Linked DNA regions of Homo sapiens: all the other regions are linked to region 2. The links are contacts of gene promoters, found by promoter capture Hi-C in human tissues and cell types (Jung and others, 2019). All regions are on one chromosome and are shown on one strand. The core of a region is centred on a gene start or on the middle of the fragment in contact, and the rest is flanking DNA. Distances in the headings are between cores, read along the strand shown.

What was found. The method cuts DNA at HindIII sites, captures the fragments that hold promoters and counts their contacts. A contact is called where the count stands out against the background at its distance.
Region 1: a fragment that was not itself captured here is called in contact with the fragment with the promoter of PSMA8 in region 2 in 2 of the 25 tissues and cell types used here (pancreas and stomach).
Region 3: a fragment that was not itself captured here is called in contact with the fragment with the promoter of PSMA8 in region 2 in 3 of the 25 tissues and cell types used here (H1 embryonic stem cells, spleen and stomach).

The regions. Positions count from the first base shown.
Region 1 is chr18:26,069,820-26,072,519 of GRCh38, reverse strand. All of the region lies in intron 3 of SS18 (SS18 subunit of BAF chromatin remodeling complex), which reads left to right. Among named protein-coding and RNA genes, the nearest start is that of SS18, 19 kb to the left of the region's middle. The HindIII fragment of the contact is 5,655 bases long and covers 1-2,700 here.
Region 2 is chr18:26,132,551-26,135,250 of GRCh38, reverse strand. PSMA8 (proteasome 20S subunit alpha 8) reads right to left here and starts at 1,382. Exons shown (of 7, transcript NM_001025096.2): 1 at 1,184-1,382. The coding sequence starts at 1,285. The HindIII fragment of the contact is 10,391 bases long and covers 1-2,700 here.
Region 3 is chr18:26,099,098-26,101,797 of GRCh38, reverse strand. It overlaps the pseudogene RPS24P18. Among named protein-coding and RNA genes, the nearest start is that of SS18, 9.8 kb to the right of the region's middle. The HindIII fragment of the contact is 5,582 bases long and covers 1-2,700 here.

The sequences.
Region 1 (2,700 bases), core at 48-2,547, 63 kb after region 2:
TATCCCTTCTTATCTTTAGTAATGCTTTTAAAGTCTACTTTATCTGATATTAGCATAGCTAAATAAGCTTTCTTTGGTGTTTGCATGGTATTATCCTCCTTTCTGTTTTCTTGTGTTAGAGATAACGATATTATGAGTAGGATGTAGATTTTTTTTTTTTTTTTTAACTCAGTCTAGCAATCAAAGTGCTGGGATTACAGGTGTGAGCCACTGTGCCCGGCCAATAATTAATTTGTTTTTTATTATTCCTTTTTTTTCTTTCTAGTTGGGAAATCTTACATATTTACTATTCTTTTAGTGGTTACTGTATAGATTATAATATACATCCCAATCAAAGGACCATAAAATACTTCATTTCTGTTCCTTCCCTCAATGACCTTTTCGTTGTTGTTGTAATGTATTTTAAGTCTCTATATGTTTCCACAAGTGGTTGTTATTACTGTCTTTTTTTTGAAGTCAGTGTTCATTAGATCATCCACATAGTTACTTACCATTTCTGATGCTTTCTGTTCCTCCTTTCATTTATGACCTTCTAGCTTAGATCACTTTTTTTTTCACCTCCTAAAGAACATTCCTTAGTATTTCCTTTAGCACTGCTTTGCTGGTGAGACATACCTTCAGTATTTTTGTTTTGTTTTGGTCTGGGTCTGAAAATGCCTTTATTTCACCATCATTCTTTTTTTTTTCCTCTGGAGACAGTGTTTCACTCCGTCACCCAGGCCAGAGCATAGGGGCATGATCATAGCTCACTGCAGCTTCGAACTTTTGGGCTCAAGAAATCTTCCTGCCATAGCCTCCTGAGAAGCTAGGACCACAGGCATACACCATCATGCCTGGCTGATTTTTGTATTTTTTGGAGAAATGGGGTCTTATATCGCCCGGGCTAGTCTTAAACTCCTGGCCTCGAGTGATTCTCCTGCCTTGGCCTCCCAAAGTTCTGGGATTGTAGGCATGAGCCACCACACCTGGCTCACCATGATTCTTAGAAGATATTTTCCAAGGACAGATACTAGGTTAGTTGTTGTTTACTTAGCACATTACATTTATCCTTGCGTTGTTTTCTGTCTTGTATCTATTGAAAATTCAGATATCAATGTAATTGTTGATATTTTGAACATAATCTGCTTATTTGACTGCATTTAAGAGTTTTGCTTTGTCTAGGATTTTTAGTGGTTTTAGTATGTTTAGGTGTGGATTTCTGTTTTCTTAAATTTATTTTTTCTCACACTGTAGTTAGATATTGGAAGATTTCTTTCTAATTATCTTGCTTGGTGCCTGTTGGGATTTCTGACATCTGTAGGTTCATGTCTTTCATCAGTTTTGGGAGTTTTCAGTCATTATCTCTTCAAGCAAATAATTCTTCCATAAGACTCCAGTTAAACTTAGACTAGACCTTGTAACTGTATCTTTATGTTTCTTAATCCCTTCAGACTTTTCCAACCATTTATCATTCTAAGTATATTTTTTTCTGACCAGTTTTCCAGTTCATTTTTCACTGGGCCTAATCTGTTATACCTATCCCTTGAGTTCCTAATATATATTTTTCTATTTCTAGAATTTCTATAAGTTCTTTTTTAGATCTGCTCTGGCATTTTAAAAATATTTTCTGCTCTTTGCTGAGAGGATGTTACTAACTATAGTTTGAGATACTTGAGTCTGAAAAAACTATTATGTTTTAGGATGATTTTACTTAAGTTTTCTAGAATGGGGTTTTTCACTTCATTTCAGTTGAATGGGGTGGGAATTAGAAATGTGTTCATAATTATATATAAGTTTAACTTTCAGTTTTTTCCCATGTCATCTCAAGAGAAGAATTATTTATTTATAGTTCTATTTCGTGTGTTTGGAACTGGCCAAGATCGAGCACTAGCTAGAATCTAAAAGTCAAGAATCTAAACACTGAGAATAAAAGGAGAAAAATAACTTCTAATGCCAGTGCACTAACACTTAGGCATTTTACTTCTTAGTTTCAGCCTTGTGTCTTTTTTCTTAATGCCAAAGCATTATAACTTTATAAGGGAACTACTCTTCACCTTACACATATTTTAACAGACTTGTTTTCTTAATTTTAAGCCAGGAGACAGCAAATAGCAAAAATGGGAGAAGTTGTTCTATAAGCAGACATATATACATGCAGTGTTACCTGACAGCCAAGATGGCATAGAAATAGACATAAAATTTATAAAAAGCTGACAATTCAAAATGTGCACTACTCTGGCTCCATTTAGTGTAGATAGATAGGGCCCTATCTTGGTAAACCTTGCAGGCATCATTTAAATGTTGGTTCTCAGTTGGTGTTTACTTTCTGAAACAACAAACTATTGACATACTTATTTTCATAATTAGGAACCATTTTTAATTTATTTTTATAGGTTTGTGGGTACAAGTGCAGTTTTGTTACGTGGATTTCTTGTGTGGTGGTGAAGGCTGAGCTTTTAGTGTACCCATTACCCCCAGTAAGGAACACTGTACCCAATAGGTCATTTTTCAATCCTCATCCCCTCCCCGCACCTAGGAACAATTTTACCAGTAGAAAGTGTGACTATTTTTTTGTGTATGCAGATTTTTCCTTCTCAAACATACTTTGAAGAAATGGCATTTCTATGTTTTAATTTCATATTAGTTACTGTTAATTTATTTTTTATCATCTGCTAGTATTAGCATATACAAAGTGGTAGGCACCATTTGTTTAGAAAAGAA
Region 2 (2,700 bases), core at 133-2,632:
AGAAGATTTGGGGTAATAGATCTTGTGTCACTAGGGCACTTTTGTCCTCTTTAATTTTTATAAATCACTAAAATTATTGAACGTAGTTAAAACTTGGCAGCAGTATTACTCCTACCCTGAGTATTTTTTAAGTTTTTCAGTAATGTGGATACATAAATCTAAGGTAGGGTGTAATCTCTCAAGGAACTTCCAGCATTATTTTTTAAGTGGCCAAAAAAGTGGAAGTTCTTGGACTTTTGAGCCTCTACAAGGCTGGGAAATATTGGGACAATTTTGGGATTTTTTTTTTTTTTCCCGAGACGGAGTTTCGCTTTTGTTGCCCAGGCTGGAGTGCAATGGCACGATCTCGGCTCACCGCAACCTCTGCCTCCCAGGTTCAAGCGATTCTCCCGCCTCAGCCTCCCGAGTAGCTGGGATTACAGGCATGCGCCACCACGCCTGGCTAATTTTGTATTTTTAGTAGAGACGGAGTTTCTCCATGTTGGTCAGGCTGGTCTCAAACTCCCGACCTCAGGTGATCCGCCCTCCTGGGCCTTCCAAAGTGCTGGGATTACAGGTGTGAGCCACTGCGCCCAGCAATTTTGGGATATTTTTAACGCGTGTGTTTGAACTGTGTTTTTAATCATTTCTTCATCAACAAAAGTTTAATTTTATATTGATTTAGTCCGTATTTGGGGAGCAGGTGTGGCCAACTTTTATTTTTTATTGTAACTGTTATTAAAAAACAGTTCCCAACATGAAGCAACTGTTAACTTTTCCAGGGGTCTCTGAACTACCAAGGAACTGGACCACGAGCGTTCAATAGGTAGGCTGTTACAGATTAGAAGCTTTCCCTATTGTCAATCACATCATTAACGTCCCTACACACACACACACACACACAGAGACACACACACACACACACACACACCCACACACACACCCTAGTTTTGCGTCTGTAGCTACCATGAAACAGAGGCAGTTGAACAGCAGAGATAGGGGAAATCTACTAACTTTTACTCTGCCCACTTCCGGCCCAAATCTAGAAGTCTGTCTCCCTAAATAAAAAGAACAAAGTAATTTTCACAAGTGTGGGAATCTCCTCTCTTGAGCTCCTAGGATGGAAAGGTGGGCTGGGGCAGCAGGGTAACGATGGCCTGACAGGTCAGAGCGGGGAATAGTCCGGTAATAGTTGCTTCCTCACCGCGGTGGATCCTTTCTTCACCGCTTCCTGGGCATATTCAACTTGAAAAAGGTGTCCGTCTGGGGAGAAGACAGTGATCGCCCTGTCATATCGAGACGCCATCGCACAGGACTACAAGGGCTTGCCACCGAGCTTCCCGCTGCTGCAGCTGAGGCAAGCGGGGAGCCGCCGCCAACACAGCGTGCTACCGCCCGGAAGCGCTTCCACACGCGCCTCAAGCTGCCTCCCGGAAGTCCCCGCGCCCGCGCTTCGGCTGCTTCACGGAAGTCCTTGCTCCTTTGGCTGCCTGCGGATGTCCTCGCGCTTGCCAGCCTTTGTCACCCAAGCAGTGCCTGTGAGTTGACGGCATTCTTCCCTTACCCTTCATGTCTGACGCATAGCGCATATCTCCATTTCCCCACTACCGTGTTGCCCCAGGGATGGTGTCACGGCACTCGAGTTATAAAAATAATATCAAAGATTAGGGCTTAAAAATGAGGTCTTCAAATATCAGATATTTTTGTTATCGCATACATGTTGGAGAAACTGTGGTAAGTTAAATATCAGTCCCTTCCCTTTGGTTTCAAATTCTAAATTTCCTACTTTTTCTTTCTCTCTCTCAGGTTAACTCTTGTTATTTGAACCGAAGGAAAGAAAGCAAACTTCAAAATATTGTTGCTTCTGATATTTTCTGCCTTGTGAGCAAAATAGAGCAGATGAGCAAATGGTCCGTTAAATAAAGCAAATAGTCCATCAAACTAAGCTAATGATGAGAATTAAGATAATGTTCTTTTTTTTGTTTTGTTTTGTTTTTTGTTTTTTGAGACGGAGTCTCGCTCTGTCGCCCAGGCTGGAGTGCAGTGGTGCAATCTCGGCTCACTGCAAGCTCCACCTCCCGGGTTCACGCCATTCTCCTGCCTCAGCCTCCGGAGCAGCTGGGACTACAGGCGCCCGCCACCACGCCCGGCTAATTTTTTATATTTTTAGTAGAGACTGGGTTTCACCGTGTTAGCCAGGATGGTCTTGATCTCCTGACCTCGTGATCCGCCTGCCTCGGCCTCCCAAAGTGCTGGGATTACAGGCGTGAGCCACCGCGCCCGGCCCAGATAATATTCTTTTAATTGGAGAAATTTTGTAAAAGCCCAAAGTATGAGACTTAAAAGATGTCTGGAAATTTAGCTATAGCAGAAACTCTTTACAACTTGCTACATTACTAACTATGAAACAACTCTGTCGCTTTCTCCTTATCAATAAAATGGGAATATTAAAAAATCTGCAGCAGAGTATTCTGAGCTTAATATGTGTTTATGGGCATAATTACATAAAATGGTGCCTGGTGGGCAGTAATAGCCAGGTAAGTTTAGCTATTATTGCTTTCCATGTGTTGTTTAATATATGCAGTTTTCCACTGGGGAGGATCTTAAAGTTGGTGAAATCAACTTTAACCAAAAAAAAGAAAAAAAGAATAATTTCCTCAAAAGAGGAAAAATTTGATTCCCTGAATTCCAAATACTTAAATCAGAATTTTAATTGACTTA
Region 3 (2,700 bases), core at 163-2,662, 33 kb after region 2:
TCAACATACTGATTTTCTTTCTTTTGGAAATATACCCAGCAATAGGATTGGTGGATCAGATGGTAGTACTGTTTTTAGGTTTTTTTCGAGGAGCCGCCATACGTTTTTTCATAATGGCTGTACTAATTTACATTTCCCTCAGCAGTGTGTAAGTTTCCTTTCTCCACATCTTTACCACAATTATCTTTTGTCTTTTTGAAAATAGCCATTCTAACTGGGGTGAGATAATATCTCACTGTGATTCTGATTTACATTTCTTCAGTGATTAGTGGAGTTGATCAATTGCGTGTATTCTTTTGAGAAATGCCTATCAGATCATTTGTTCATTTAAAAATTGGATTGTATTTGCTTTTTTGCTATTGAGTTCCTTATATATTCTGGTTATTAATCCCTTATCAGATGAATAGTTTGCAAATATTTTCTCCCATTCCTTAGGTTGACTCTTCACTCTTGATTGTTTTCTTTGCTGTGCAGAAGTTTTTTAGCTTGATATAATCCAATTTGTCTATTTTTGCTTTTGTTGCCTGTGTTTCAGGGGTCTTATCCAAAAAATCTTGGCCCGGCCGGGCGTGGTGGCTCATGCCTGTAATCCCAGCACTTTGGAAGGCTGAGGTGGGCGGATCATGAGGTCAGGAGTTTGAGACCAGCCTGGCAAACATGGTGAAACCCTGTCTCTACAAAAATTAGCTGGGCGTGGTGGTGCATGTACCAGTAATCCCAGGTACTTGGGAGGCTGAGGCAGGAGAATTGCTTGAACCTGGGAGGCGGAGGTTGCAGTGAGCCGAGATCATGCCACTGCAATGTAGCCTGGGTAACAGAGCAAGATTCTGTCTCAAAAAAAAAAAATTAAAAAAAAAATCTTGCCCAGATCAGTGTTCTGAAGCGTTCCCCAATGTTTTCTTCTAGTAGTTTCATGTCTTACATTTAACTCTTTAATCCATTTTGATTTGACTTTGTATATGGTGAGAGATTGGGGTCTAGTTTCATTTTGCATGTGGTTATCCCGTTTTCCTAGCACATTTTATTCAAGATAATGTCCTTTTCCCAATGTATGTTTTTGGCACCTTTGTTGAAAATGAGTTCACTGTAGATATGTGGATTTATTTCTGGCTTCTCTATTCTGTTCCATCGGTCTATGCATCTGTTTTTATGTTAGTACCATGTCTCTTTTTATGTTAGTACCATGTTGTTTTGGCTACTATAGCTTTGTATTAATAGTATATTTTGTATTAATAGTATTAATAATACATTTTGTATTAATAGTATATTTTGAAGTCAGATAGTGGGATGCCTCCAGCTTTGGTTTTCTTTCTTTCGTTTCTTTCTTTTGGTTTCTTTCTTTGGTTTTCTTTCTTTTCTTTTCTTTCAAAGCTTAAGATTGCTTTGAGTATTAAGGATCTTTTTGTGGTTTCATACAGTTTTTTTTCTATTTCTGTAAAGAATGTCACTGGTATTTTAATGGGGATTGCATTGAATCTATAGATCACTTTGGATAGTATGGACATTTTGACAGTATTAATTCTTCTAATTCATTAGCATGGAATATCTTTTCATTTTTTGGTGTTCTCTTCAATTTCTTTCATCAGTGTTTTACAGTTTTCTTTGTAGATTTTTTTACTTCTTTGCTTAAATTTATTCTTATATTTTGTTTTGTTTGGTAACTATTGTGAATGGGATTGTTTTCTTGATTTCTTTTTCAGATTGTTCACTGCATATATAAATGCTACTTTTTTGTATGTTGATTTTGTATCCTGCAACTTTACTGTATTCGATCTTATATGTTTCTAAATATAAAATCATGGTTCTGCAAACAAGTATAATTTGACTTTTTCCTTTCCAATTTGGATGCCCTGTCTTTCTTTCTCTTGTGTAACTGCTCTGGCTAGGGTTTCCAGTACTATCTTGAATAGGAGTAGTGGAAGTGGACATCCTTGTCTTTTTCCAGATTGTAGAGGAAAGGCTTTCAATTTTTCCCTGTTTAGTATGATGTTAGCTGCAGGTTGGTCATATATGGCCTTTATTGTTTTGAGGTATGTTTCTTCTATACCCAGTTTGTTGGGTTTTTTTTTTTTCATGAAGGAAGGGATGTTGAATTTTATCACATGCTTTTTTAGTATCTATTGAAATGATAATATGGTTTTTGTCTTTGTTCTGTTAATGTGATATATCACATTTATTGACTCATGTATGTTGAACCATACCTGCATCCCTGGCTAAATGAAGTTAACTTTTTCCTAATTATTTTTTCTGTTTCTCACACTATATAATCTCATTTGACATATCTGCAGTTTACTGATGTTTTTTCTTCTAGTTCTAATCTGCTTTTGAACCTTTCTCATGAATTTTTTATTTTAGATTTTGTGCATTTCAATGATTTTTTTGTTTTTTGTGGTTTTTAATAATATTTATCTTAATATTTTTGGGGGTGAGAAACATTGTTTTCATGTTTTTCTTTAATTCTTAAGTTTTTTTCAGTTTATTAATCCTTTTGTGAAAAATCTATGCAGTCAGCACAGATGAAGTCATTAGTCATTGCAGAATCCATACTCCTACTGTTACCCAATCTCTAGCTCACTTTTTGCTGGCACCATTGGCCTTTGCAGTCCACCTGACTTTCTTCATTCTGTTCTTGCATTTCTTTTGCTGTTTTCTTAAGGTCTTTTTCTTCTCATACAGGCCATGTCTTGTAAGTCTATATTT